Linked DNA regions of Homo sapiens: region 2 is linked to region 1. The links are contacts of gene promoters, found by promoter capture Hi-C in blood cells and fetal thymus (Javierre and others, 2016). All regions are on one chromosome and are shown on one strand. The core of a region is centred on a gene start or on the middle of the fragment in contact, and the rest is flanking DNA. Distances in the headings are between cores, read along the strand shown.

Region 1 (5,622 bases), core at 1,475-3,974:
ATTAAAATGGGGCTTCCATTTTTATTTAAAAGCAAAATTTACCGATTGCATTTCTCACTTCCTAACTCTAGACTGATACGCCTTATTTCAGCTAGCACTTTCTATTTCTCAATAAAGTACCCCAGATATACCAGTAAGAGCCTCATCTTAAAGAAATGTCCAAAAGAAGACCAAGAGGGCGGTATAGTTTATTCTTCTGAACCAATTATTAACTTAAGAGTCTTTGCCTGGGGAAGGAGTACTGAGCAGCAGAACTCCCAATGAGCCAGCACAAACGGTCACATGCTGAAGATGCAATGGAAGAATCCTGGCCCATTGGCCAAAAGGTGTCTCCGGCTAAGTGTGTGCTGAGAGGAGAAAAGGACAGCGCCGGACACATGGCTGGGTCTGTTTCAACGTGGCTGAGAACAGTGGGAAGCTTTTTAAAATCTGGGAATACATCAAAGGGCTAATGCAGATTAAGCCCAGCTCCTTTTTTTTTTTTCCCTGAAAGGCTCACTTTTGTTCCTAATAGAAAGACTTAGATGGTATTTCTTCAGATCATAAAGCAAGTTGTACTTTTAATGATGGAATAAAAATTATAAAAGTAAAACGTGGCTTTTCCTCCCCATTCTTTTTTTCCTTTTTTAAGTGATGAATTCAGGAAAAGACCAGTCTAGGCCAAATTTATCTCTTGTTAACCTTCAGGGATATGGAGTACGCCAAGTATGTTAGTACAAAGTCAAATTTGGATGATGTAGTCATTTTTTGCTAATTCCATTATTAGAAACATTAGATAATATGGTAGTATCTAAGGAATACAGCTTTAAAAATAGTATGCACCTTCACTATCAAGACTGTAAGGCAAAATCAACTTGTGCCCACGACTGAACTTTTGAAATAGAAAATTTTGTTATATCCATGTTAGCCAGGCTGGTCTTGAACTCCTGACCTCAAATGATCCGCCCGCCCCGACCTCCCAAAGTGCTGGGATTACAGGCGTGAGCCACTGCACCCGTGGCATGCACCTGTAATCCCAGCAACTCGGGAGGCTGAGGCAGGAGAATCGCTTGAACCCAGGAGGTGGAGGTTTCAGTGAGCTGAGACTGCACCATTGCATTTCAGCTTGGGGAACGAGCGAACGCTCTCTCAAAACAAACAAACAAAAAACCAAAACAAAAAACCTTGTTATGTCAATAAGAGTATTTCTAAGTGGGTTAGCAGCTCCCTGACAGGCTACCTCTCCAGCCTTCCCAGGCCCACCCATCCTTGGTTCCCTCTCTAGCCTCACAAGACAGCGCTCTTCTCATCACACTCAGGCATTTCACTGGAGCCCCTGATCTCGCTTTGCCCTCCTCTCTTGGAGCCTGCCTCATCAACTGTCCTCTCTTCCCTCTCTATTGGCCCCTTCTCTTCATCCTGAAAGTCAACCTGAGTCATTCCAATCAACAAATTCTCTCTCGACTCTGCATCCCTCCTGGCTACTGCCTTCTGACCTGACCCATGTTCTCCACACAGTCCTCTGCTCTAGCTGCTGCAACCACACTTGCACTCACGACCAAACCAGCCCTACGTGGCTATCGCCACCACTGTTCTTCCTAACTGACAAGCTGTCTCAGGTACCCACAGGTTAGATATTTCAGGGGAAATGACTGTTACAGAAATGTTCATGTTAGAATGAAGAAACAGATCAATACACATCAATCATATTAAAAAGGTGCTTCTAAGACAAAGCATATATTATTTTTATTATTCATATTCAATATTTTAGGAATTAAAGCAACGATGTTTCTGCAAATTTATGGTTTTGAATTGATGGTACGTTGTAATAATGCATAGATAGGGTCTGCCTGAGCTTTCACCCCAGGAACTGTAAACTTTATATTACAGTAGTCCCCCCTTATCCAAGGTTTTAGCTTTCCAAGGTTTCATTTACCTGTGGTCAACCATGGTCCAGAAACATTATATGGAAAATTCCAGAAATAAACAATGTATAAGTTTTAAATTGTGAGTCATTCTGAGTAGTGTGAGGAGATCTTGTGCTGTCCTGCTCCATCCTGCCTGGGTCATAAACCCTCTCTCTCGGGGTCCAGCATCTCCACGCTGTAGACACCCCCACCACCAACCAGTCACTTAGTGGCCATCTCAGTTACCAGATCTACTGTCAGGGGGTCTCAGTGCTTAGGTTCCTTTTTTATTTTTGAGACAGAGGCTGGCTCTGTCGCCCAGGCTGGAGTGCAGTGGCATGATCTTGGCTCGCTGTAACCTCCACCTCCTGGGCTTAAGCCATGCTCCCACCTCAGCCTGCCGAGTAGCTGGGACTACAGGTATGTGCCACCGTGACCGGTGAATTTTTGTGTTTTTTGTAGAGGCAGAGTTTTGCCATGTTGCCCAGGCTAGTCTCAAACTCCCGAGCTCAAGTGATCCACCTGCCTTGGACTCCCAAAATGCTGGGATTACAGGTGTGAGCCACTGTGCCTGGCAGGAACTATTATTTGACTTCACAATGGCCTCAAAGTTCCAAGAGTATGATGCTGGCAATCTGGATATGCCAAAAACCAGCCATGAAGTCCTTCCTTTAGTTAAAAGGTGAAAGTTCTCAAGAAAAAAAAAAGTATGCTGAGATTGCTAAGATCTACAGTAAGAATCAATCTTCTATCCATGAAATTGTGAAAAAGGACAAAGAAATTTGTGCTAGTTTTGCTGCTGTACCTAAAACTACAAAAGTTACAGCCACAGTGTGGGCTAAGTGCCGAGCTGAAATGGAAAAGGCATTAAAGGCAAGCGTATACAGGGTTCGGTCCCATCCGCAGTCTTAGGCATCCCCTGGGGATTTTGACATGGATCCCCCGTGGAGAAGGGGGGCTACTGTACAGTACACTTCCCTTCAGCAAGCCGCATATTCAAGTTCTCTATTTCAGATTCCCCTTCGTGACTGTCATGCAGGAAGCAAAGAAAACCCATTGTGTCCAAGGAAATTTTTACTTTCTCTAGGGATTCAGAAACCTGACTTTCTGATACTCAGAAACTCAGTGCGCATGGGTGAGAAGGCTCGGTAGGGAAGAGGTGCTTTGTAGCTCAGGATCTGCTGGAGCTGAGGGCGTTTTTTGGTTTAATCTAGTTTCACTGTGTGTTTCATGGAGAGGTTCCTCTAGGAACAAAAGGTTCTATGGAAGTCACGTCCTTTATCCCTCTTAGCCATCCCTGTGTCTGCCTTAGCCAACCTCCCATTTGTAAAAAGAAAGCAGAGACCAGGCTATGGCTGAATAGTTTCAGACAGCCCCTATACCACTGTCAGCCTTTGCAAAGTGTAATGCTTTAATTACAAGGGTCACACAAGGTCTTAAGACACAGGAGTCCCTGTGTCTGAACGTAATCACTGTGTATGCGTCTCAGCCTAATGAGGAGGTGACTATCATGAAGGTCTGGTGGTGAAGATCTTGCAAGAAGGTGCCTTGTTTGAGATCTTTCAAGGAAACACAGTACTCAATAAATGTGGGTGAGTAGAAATTACAATTTAGTTGGGTTAATTTTTGGTAGTAATATGGAGCTTTGCAAAGAGAAAGGCATTTGCTGAAGACACTGGTAAAATATGTGCTGAAGCTCTGCCTCATCTAGTCTGGTTCAAAAGTCAAATATCAAAGAGTCAAGAGACCCTCCTATTCAGAAGAAAGCCCTGACTTGTTAATTTATTAGAAGCAAGAGTAAATGCTCCATAGGTTTTTCATTAAATAAAATTAGATCTAGTCCCAGGGCTTTTCTGTAATGGGTGCTCCTGAGTCAGGAATCAAGACCCATGAAGTAAGAAAAGAACAGGTAGGCAAGGGGGTACCTTCTCCTCTAACAAAAGTGGCCTATCAGATGGTCAGGGAGTCTCTATCAGTGGAGCCAAACCAGCTCCACTGACACAGTTAAAGACCCTTGCCATCAAGTGCAAAGGGAAGCAGTAGGACTTAGAGTAGGCCATTTCCTACTAAAAATGGAATCATTTTTCAGTTCGGTGTACAGTTGAGCCTTGAGCAACATGGATTTGAACTGCATGGGGCCACTTAAATGTGCATTTTCTTATGACTCCGCTGCTCTTGAGACAGCAAGATCAAGCCCCCTCCTCCTCAGCCAACTCAACGTGAAGACAATGAAGATCAAGATCTTTAAGATGATCCACTTCCACTTAATGAATAATAAATATATTTTGTCGTTATGATTTTCCTAACACTTTCTCTAGCTTACTTTATTGCAGGAATACAGTATATAATCATGTAACATACCAAATACGTGCTAAATGACTGTATGTTATTGGTAGGACTTCTGGTCAGCAGTAGGCTACTAGCAGTTACATTCTGGGAGAGTCAGAAGGTATCCGTAGATTTCTGACTGCACAGGGTTGATATCCCTAGCCCCCATATTGTTCAAGGGCCCACTGTATCTAGGACGTTGGTCAGCACACTTGTACCCCATCAGAATCTCTCAGGAGTCTTCCCTGTGCCACACTCAGTGATTCCCTCATTACAAGATTAGGCATCCCTGTGATGAATGGGCTTTCATTTTGGTTTTTATTTTTGAGTAACCAGCAGGAGTTTACCTGGGATTTGAGGAATGGATAACATGACCTTTTTTCCCAGTATATAAAGGGCTTTACCTAAAAGGGCCCAGCTATTTCTTTAATAAAAGTGAGTAGTGGGGCTATGACTGATGATTATCTGTCAGAGAATAAGTGGGATTATTGTGTTTTTAGGTAACGTCCCAGAAACTGTGGCTGTCCCTTACCCTGAGTGAGAAGGTTCTGGTGCATGCAGAGTCAAATTGTGTGTTTCTATCCCTCTGAACCCTGTGCAGAGAGAAAAGTTGGTCAGCTTCCATTTCTCTTGGCTTACCAGTTCTAGTACCAAGAATTCTGTTACTATAATATGAGGAGCCCCATTCTTTCCTTTTTATAGTAGAAAAAGCAATTCTACTAGGCTTATCCAGAAAGGCATGCTAGAAGCAACTCCCTTAAGCCAGCCTAGCAGGATTTCCAGGACGAGTGTTCATGCCCCAGGGCTGCTTAGGAGGTGAGGAGTCACTCCCAGGGTGACCGCTCCTGAGGCCGCTACAGTACGCCTGGCTGTGAAGAGGCAGGCGAGCCCTCCTGACCAGGCAATTTCCTCCTCATCATGGCGTCGAGGGTAACAGCAGCAGCTCCTGGAAGCTGTTGCCTCCTCCTATGAGAACTAAGTCAGAGGCTGAGAGTGTGCTGGGGGAGGGGACACAGGTCTTCCCACCTCTCAGTCGGGGACCTCCCCAGGTACCCAGGGAAGGGGTGGGGCCTCCCAGGCACCCGCCCAGCATCAAGAAGAGGGCTGAGAAGCTACAGTTCCAGAGTGGGAGGGAAAGGACACTCGCCAGAGCAGGCTGATCCCAGAGCCCCAAACTCCTCTGGTGTCCACTTGGGCCCAGGAAGGGAGACAGTTGTCAGGGCTCTGGTCTGACCCACTGACCACAGGCCACAATGGCGACAGACCGCTCCTCAGAGGATTCAAAACTTTTCTCTGGAGGAGACAAGACTAGGTTGTTGAAGACAGACAATTTCCTGGATCAAGGGGAAAAAAAATCCACAGAAAAATAAATATGTCCTCAGACCTACCATTCCTCTTCAGGGTAAAA
Region 2 (4,803 bases), core at 1,552-4,051, 230 kb after region 1:
GCCATGTTAAGACATGACTTTGCTCTTAATTCACCGTCCACCATGATCGTGAGGCCTCCCCAGCCATGTGTAACTGTGAGCCCATTAAACCTCTTTTTCTTTATACACTACCCAGTCTCAGGTATGTATTTATTAGCAGTGTGAGAATGGACTAATACACAGAGCATAACAAAATACAAATTCTACTCGTAAAAGGAGGTGAAAGTCCTAGTAGAAGAGACTGCTTTAAAAAAAAAAAAAAAAAAATCAGGCTCTAGTGCCCTTCCCAAGTTTTTCCTCACCTTCCAGGTCCTCTCATGGGATGCTTACTGCTACTACCTTACCTCACCCCAGACACAGAAGTGACTCCCCTACTGACACTGAACCTCCAACACAGAGACAGTCTCCACTCCTTATTCTCTTCTGCACAATAAAAGAGGCACTAATGCTTCCGAAAAGAAATCTACTAATACTATATGACAAAATATACGAAGAAAATACAGAAACTTAGGTTAGCAAAGTACTACAAAGTTTCCATTGCTACTTTTCTGGACTCAGTTTTCAAGGGCAGGTTTAAGTGCAGGACAGGACATCTTCTCTGGGTCCCTCACCTCCCAGCTACCAGTGCGTCTTACTTTCTACCACAAAGCAAGCAGCCTTCTTTCTAACTCTACTATCAAATTTGTATTCATCAGTTTAAAAAATGTTTACTGAATATACACTATAAGCCTTATCTGGCTCTCTGCAGGCTACAAAGGCCAACGATTCAGAAAACTCCCTGCTATCTAGCAGACAATGATATACAAACATACATGCATCTAAATATATGTCTGAGTCGGGTGGAGTGGCTCACACCTCTAATCCCGGCTACTTGGGAGGCTGAGCTGGGGGGACAGCTTGGGCCCAGGAGGTCAAGGCTGCAGTATTTCTTTATGTATATACACATATTAATATAAATAAATAAGTGCATGTATGTCTTATACACAATGTAAGATAGTGATGACTGCTATAACACGGAGGGAATAAATGTAACTGAGAGTGACAGGGTTACTGCTCCTTGAAAATGCTTCTCTGAGAAAACTAGTATTTAAACTGAGAACCTAATGACAAGATAGAGCGAGCACTCTGAAAATCAGTGAGGGGGGATGAGTCCAGACAGAAGGAACAAGTTGGAAGGTGTGATACAGGAAAGGGAAGTACCTAATACAGCATTTTAAAAGATCACTTTGGCTGCTGTGCAATGAATGAATGGTGAAAGGGCAAAGGTAGAAACAAGGAGCTGATGAGGAAGCCTTTGCAGCAGTCCAGCTAGCAACAGAGATAGAGAGAAAGACAAAGACTAGAGTTAGCGACAGTTTGGATGTGGAAGATAAGGGGATGAATGAAGGAAGATTCTAGGAGCTTAGGAGATTTTCCATTTAGTTATGGATTCCAAGTTAAAAAGAATTATCTTTTTTGACCAACTGATAATGTCACATTTACCTACTCAAGACACAATAAATAACCTTACTTTTCAAGCAAAACCCAAGCCACACATGGTAGCACAACCTGGTAACTTAAAAGCTGATAAAATGACACCCTATTGATGCAACAGTGGTACGCTGTATAATAAAGAATCTTATGTGGTTTTCTCACCTACAATTTCTTGAATTAAAATTTCATAGAATATACTAATGGGAAAGGAAAAATAAAAAGAAGGGAAAAGAAAAGTATTTCTTAGAAAATGTCTTATTCCTAATCCAGCGGTACTAATCAGAAATCTCTCATGAATCAAGGAGATGTGATGGGGAATGGGGATCTTCTTTAAATAACCAATTGCAAAACACCTATAATTAACTACAAGGCCTTTGTTTCCTCAAGGAAAGGTCCAAGGTAAAAAGAAAACAAAAGATATTTCAGGAAGTTGAACAGTCCTCTAGATGGATAGAATAGGCCCTGATATGGGTAATAGGACCTCAGAAGAGAAAAGACACCCCACTCCGAGAAAGAACTAGGACAGAAAGGAAGGAAATCCCCAGATGAAAGTTGCTCATGAGAATTACATAGATAGTACGCATTGCTTTGTTTCGTTTCTTTGTGCTCCTCTAATGTAAAGTAGTTCACTTGCCTTTTGAACCCCCTCAGCCTCCCCAGAAGGGAAAGTGTGGGTTTGTGTTTGTTGTTTTGTGCTGATGGCGGGGGGAGTTCTTCATGACCATGATATTTCTGAAGAACCCAGGGTGGTTGTTTGATAGAATATTCCACAATTTGAATATACCTGATTATTCACTCATTAAATTCAAGATGTTTAACAAATCTTAAATACAACATAGTTGATATTGTATCCTCGAGTTCTTCCATCGCATCAAAAGTAAAATAAAAAGTCAATTTATCCCAAACTGATAAAGCTTGATTACTTAAGATGGCATCCATTAAATTTCCTCACAGAAAGTATGCCATTTTTTCTTAGCAAATAATCTGTAGATTGATACTTTGAAACTGTGATGATCCTATATCCAAACAATTTTCACCCATTATTAAAAATGAACTTTAATGATTCTTGCTTTAGTCAATATCTACATTGTTCACTGCACAATGATTAAAAAAACATAAAGACAAAGATCTTTGCCTGTCTTCTTTGTTGTTTCTGCAGTGGCTGAAACTGCCTAAAGAATAACATGCAAAGTAAGAGTTACTAAGTAAATCTATTAGTTAATCTGAGCAGCTGTAAGTCATTATTTTTACTGCTGTAATCTATGTCACCTACAAACATACTGCAGCATTATCCATTCCACTGTGAATGAACATTCAGACTGTAACCTGTTCTATTTATATAACAATGGTCCTTTGAATATTTTTGTACTTGTTGTCTGGAACTTTGTATATGAGCTTCCTGGATCTATGTGTAAGAGCACAACTGCTGGATAGTATGAAACTCTTATAAATTCTTTATTTAAAAAGATCAAATCTATTCACTTTTCTTTATCTCAGTTATCATAATACTTAATCATAATACTTACACAAACTACCAGCAGTCCAGGACTCTTGTACTGGCCTACTAGCAGAACTCCCCACTACTACAGTTGCCCCCATCCAAGCCACATAGTGGTCAGTGAAATTTTCTTAAGGTATATATACTATTATATCTCTCTCCTGCCTACATCTTTCATGGGTTTACATTATACTACGAAAAAACCATAGACGTATAATGAAATAGAAATTATGAACCAAAGGACAGGAAGTGTGACGGGTAGAGAGACAGCATAATACAAGCTTGTTTAATCAGAACACGAGAAAGGACTATGCTAGACTTGCCCTAAGAAAACTTTTTTAAAGCCTAAAAGGCCTTAACCTAAACAAAATTAATGTACCTGCCAGACTAAACATCTATACCTTTTAAATAAAGGTAACAAAATCCAAACACACAATGTAACATTTACAATGTCTAGAATCCAATCAACAATTAAGAGATAGGTAAAGATGCAAAATGTGATTCATATCAGAAGGAAAATAGCTGACAGAAAGAAACCCAGAAATGAAGACTCTTAAAACAGTTGTTACAAATACTATTATAAGTTACAGCTATTACAAACAGGTAAAATGATTTGGAGAAAAAAATAAACATGATGAGATAAATAAGAAAAAAGCAAACATTTTAAAATTAAGTTTTTAGATATTAAAATGACTAAAAAATCCAATAATATATAAAAAGAATTATATACCATGACCAAATGGGATTTAATCCTGGTATGCAAAGCTGATTCAACATCCAAAAATCAATTAATGTAATCCATCACATTAACAGGCTAAAGAAGAAAAATCCTATGATCATATAAATAGATGCAGAAAAAGCATTTAACAAAAATCAACAATCACTGAGTTTAGCAAACTAGGAATAAAGAGAAATTTCTTGTACTTGATAAAGAATATACACAAAAAGCCTACAGTTAACATTACACTTAATGACAAGAAACTGGATGCCTTCTCCCAAAAATCAGGAAAAATACAAGAATGTCCCCTCTTACAACTCTTATTCAACATCTGACTGCAGATTCCAGCTTATGAAGTATGTTAAGAAAAGGAAATAAAGAGTAAACAGACTGGAAAGGAATAAATAGAACTGTCTTCACTAGTGGATAAGATGACTGTCTATGAAGGAATTCCAAAAAAATCAGCAATAACAACAAAATTCTTGGAACTGATAAGCAATTATAGTAAGGTTACAGAATACAAATTAATATACAAAAGATTATCACATTCCTATATACCAGCAGTGAACAACTGGAATTTGAAATTAAAATAGTGACATTTACATTAGCACTAAAGAAATAAAATAGGCATGAATCTTAAAATACATACAGTGTATCTATGAGGAAAACTACAAAACTCTGACGAAAGAAATGGATGAAAATCTAAATGTAGAGATAATCAATGTACATGGATAGGAAGATTCAATATTGTTAAGATATCAATCCTCCTCAACGTGATCTATAGGTTGAACACAATTAAAATCAAAGTCCTAGCAATTTATTTTGTAGATATCCACAAACTGATTCTAAAGTTTATATGGAAAGGAAAAGACCCAGAATAGGCATCACAATATTGAAGAAAAAGAACAAATTCAAAAGACTAACAATACCCAACTTCAAGACTTACTATAAAGCTACAGACATCAAGACAGTATGGTATTGTCTAAGACAGACAAATTACTCAAGAGCCCAGAAGTAGACCCACACAAATACAGTCAACTGAACTATGACAAAGAAGCAATGGCAATTAAATGCAGATAGTCTTTCCAAACAAAGGGTACTGGAATAACTGGATATTCATTATGCAAGAAAATTA

What was found. The method cuts DNA at HindIII sites, captures the fragments that hold promoters and counts their contacts. A CHiCAGO score of 5 or more calls a contact.
Region 2: a contact is called between a fragment that was not itself captured here and the fragment with the promoter of PCCA-AS1 in region 1, in 2 of 17 cell types (M2 macrophages and M1 macrophages). The highest score is 5.5, in M2 macrophages.

What each region holds. Positions count from the first base shown.
Region 1 is chr13:100,478,117-100,483,738 of GRCh38, reverse strand. It overlaps PCCA-AS1 (PCCA antisense RNA 1), which reads left to right and starts at 2,724. Exons shown (of 5, transcript NR_047686.1): 1 at 2,724-2,759. The region is part of intron 21 of PCCA (propionyl-CoA carboxylase subunit alpha); the gene reads right to left. It overlaps LOC107984574 (a long non-coding RNA gene), which reads left to right and starts at 2,532. Exons shown (of 3, transcript XR_007063850.1): 1 at 2,532-2,619; 2 at 3,309-3,478; 3 at 3,976-4,192. The HindIII fragment of the contact is 6,979 bases long and covers 421-5,622 here.
Region 2 is chr13:100,249,298-100,254,100 of GRCh38, reverse strand. The region is part of intron 8 of PCCA (propionyl-CoA carboxylase subunit alpha); the gene reads right to left. Among named protein-coding and RNA genes, the nearest start is that of PCCA, 160 kb to the right of the region's middle. The HindIII fragment of the contact is 865 bases long and covers 2,369-3,233 here.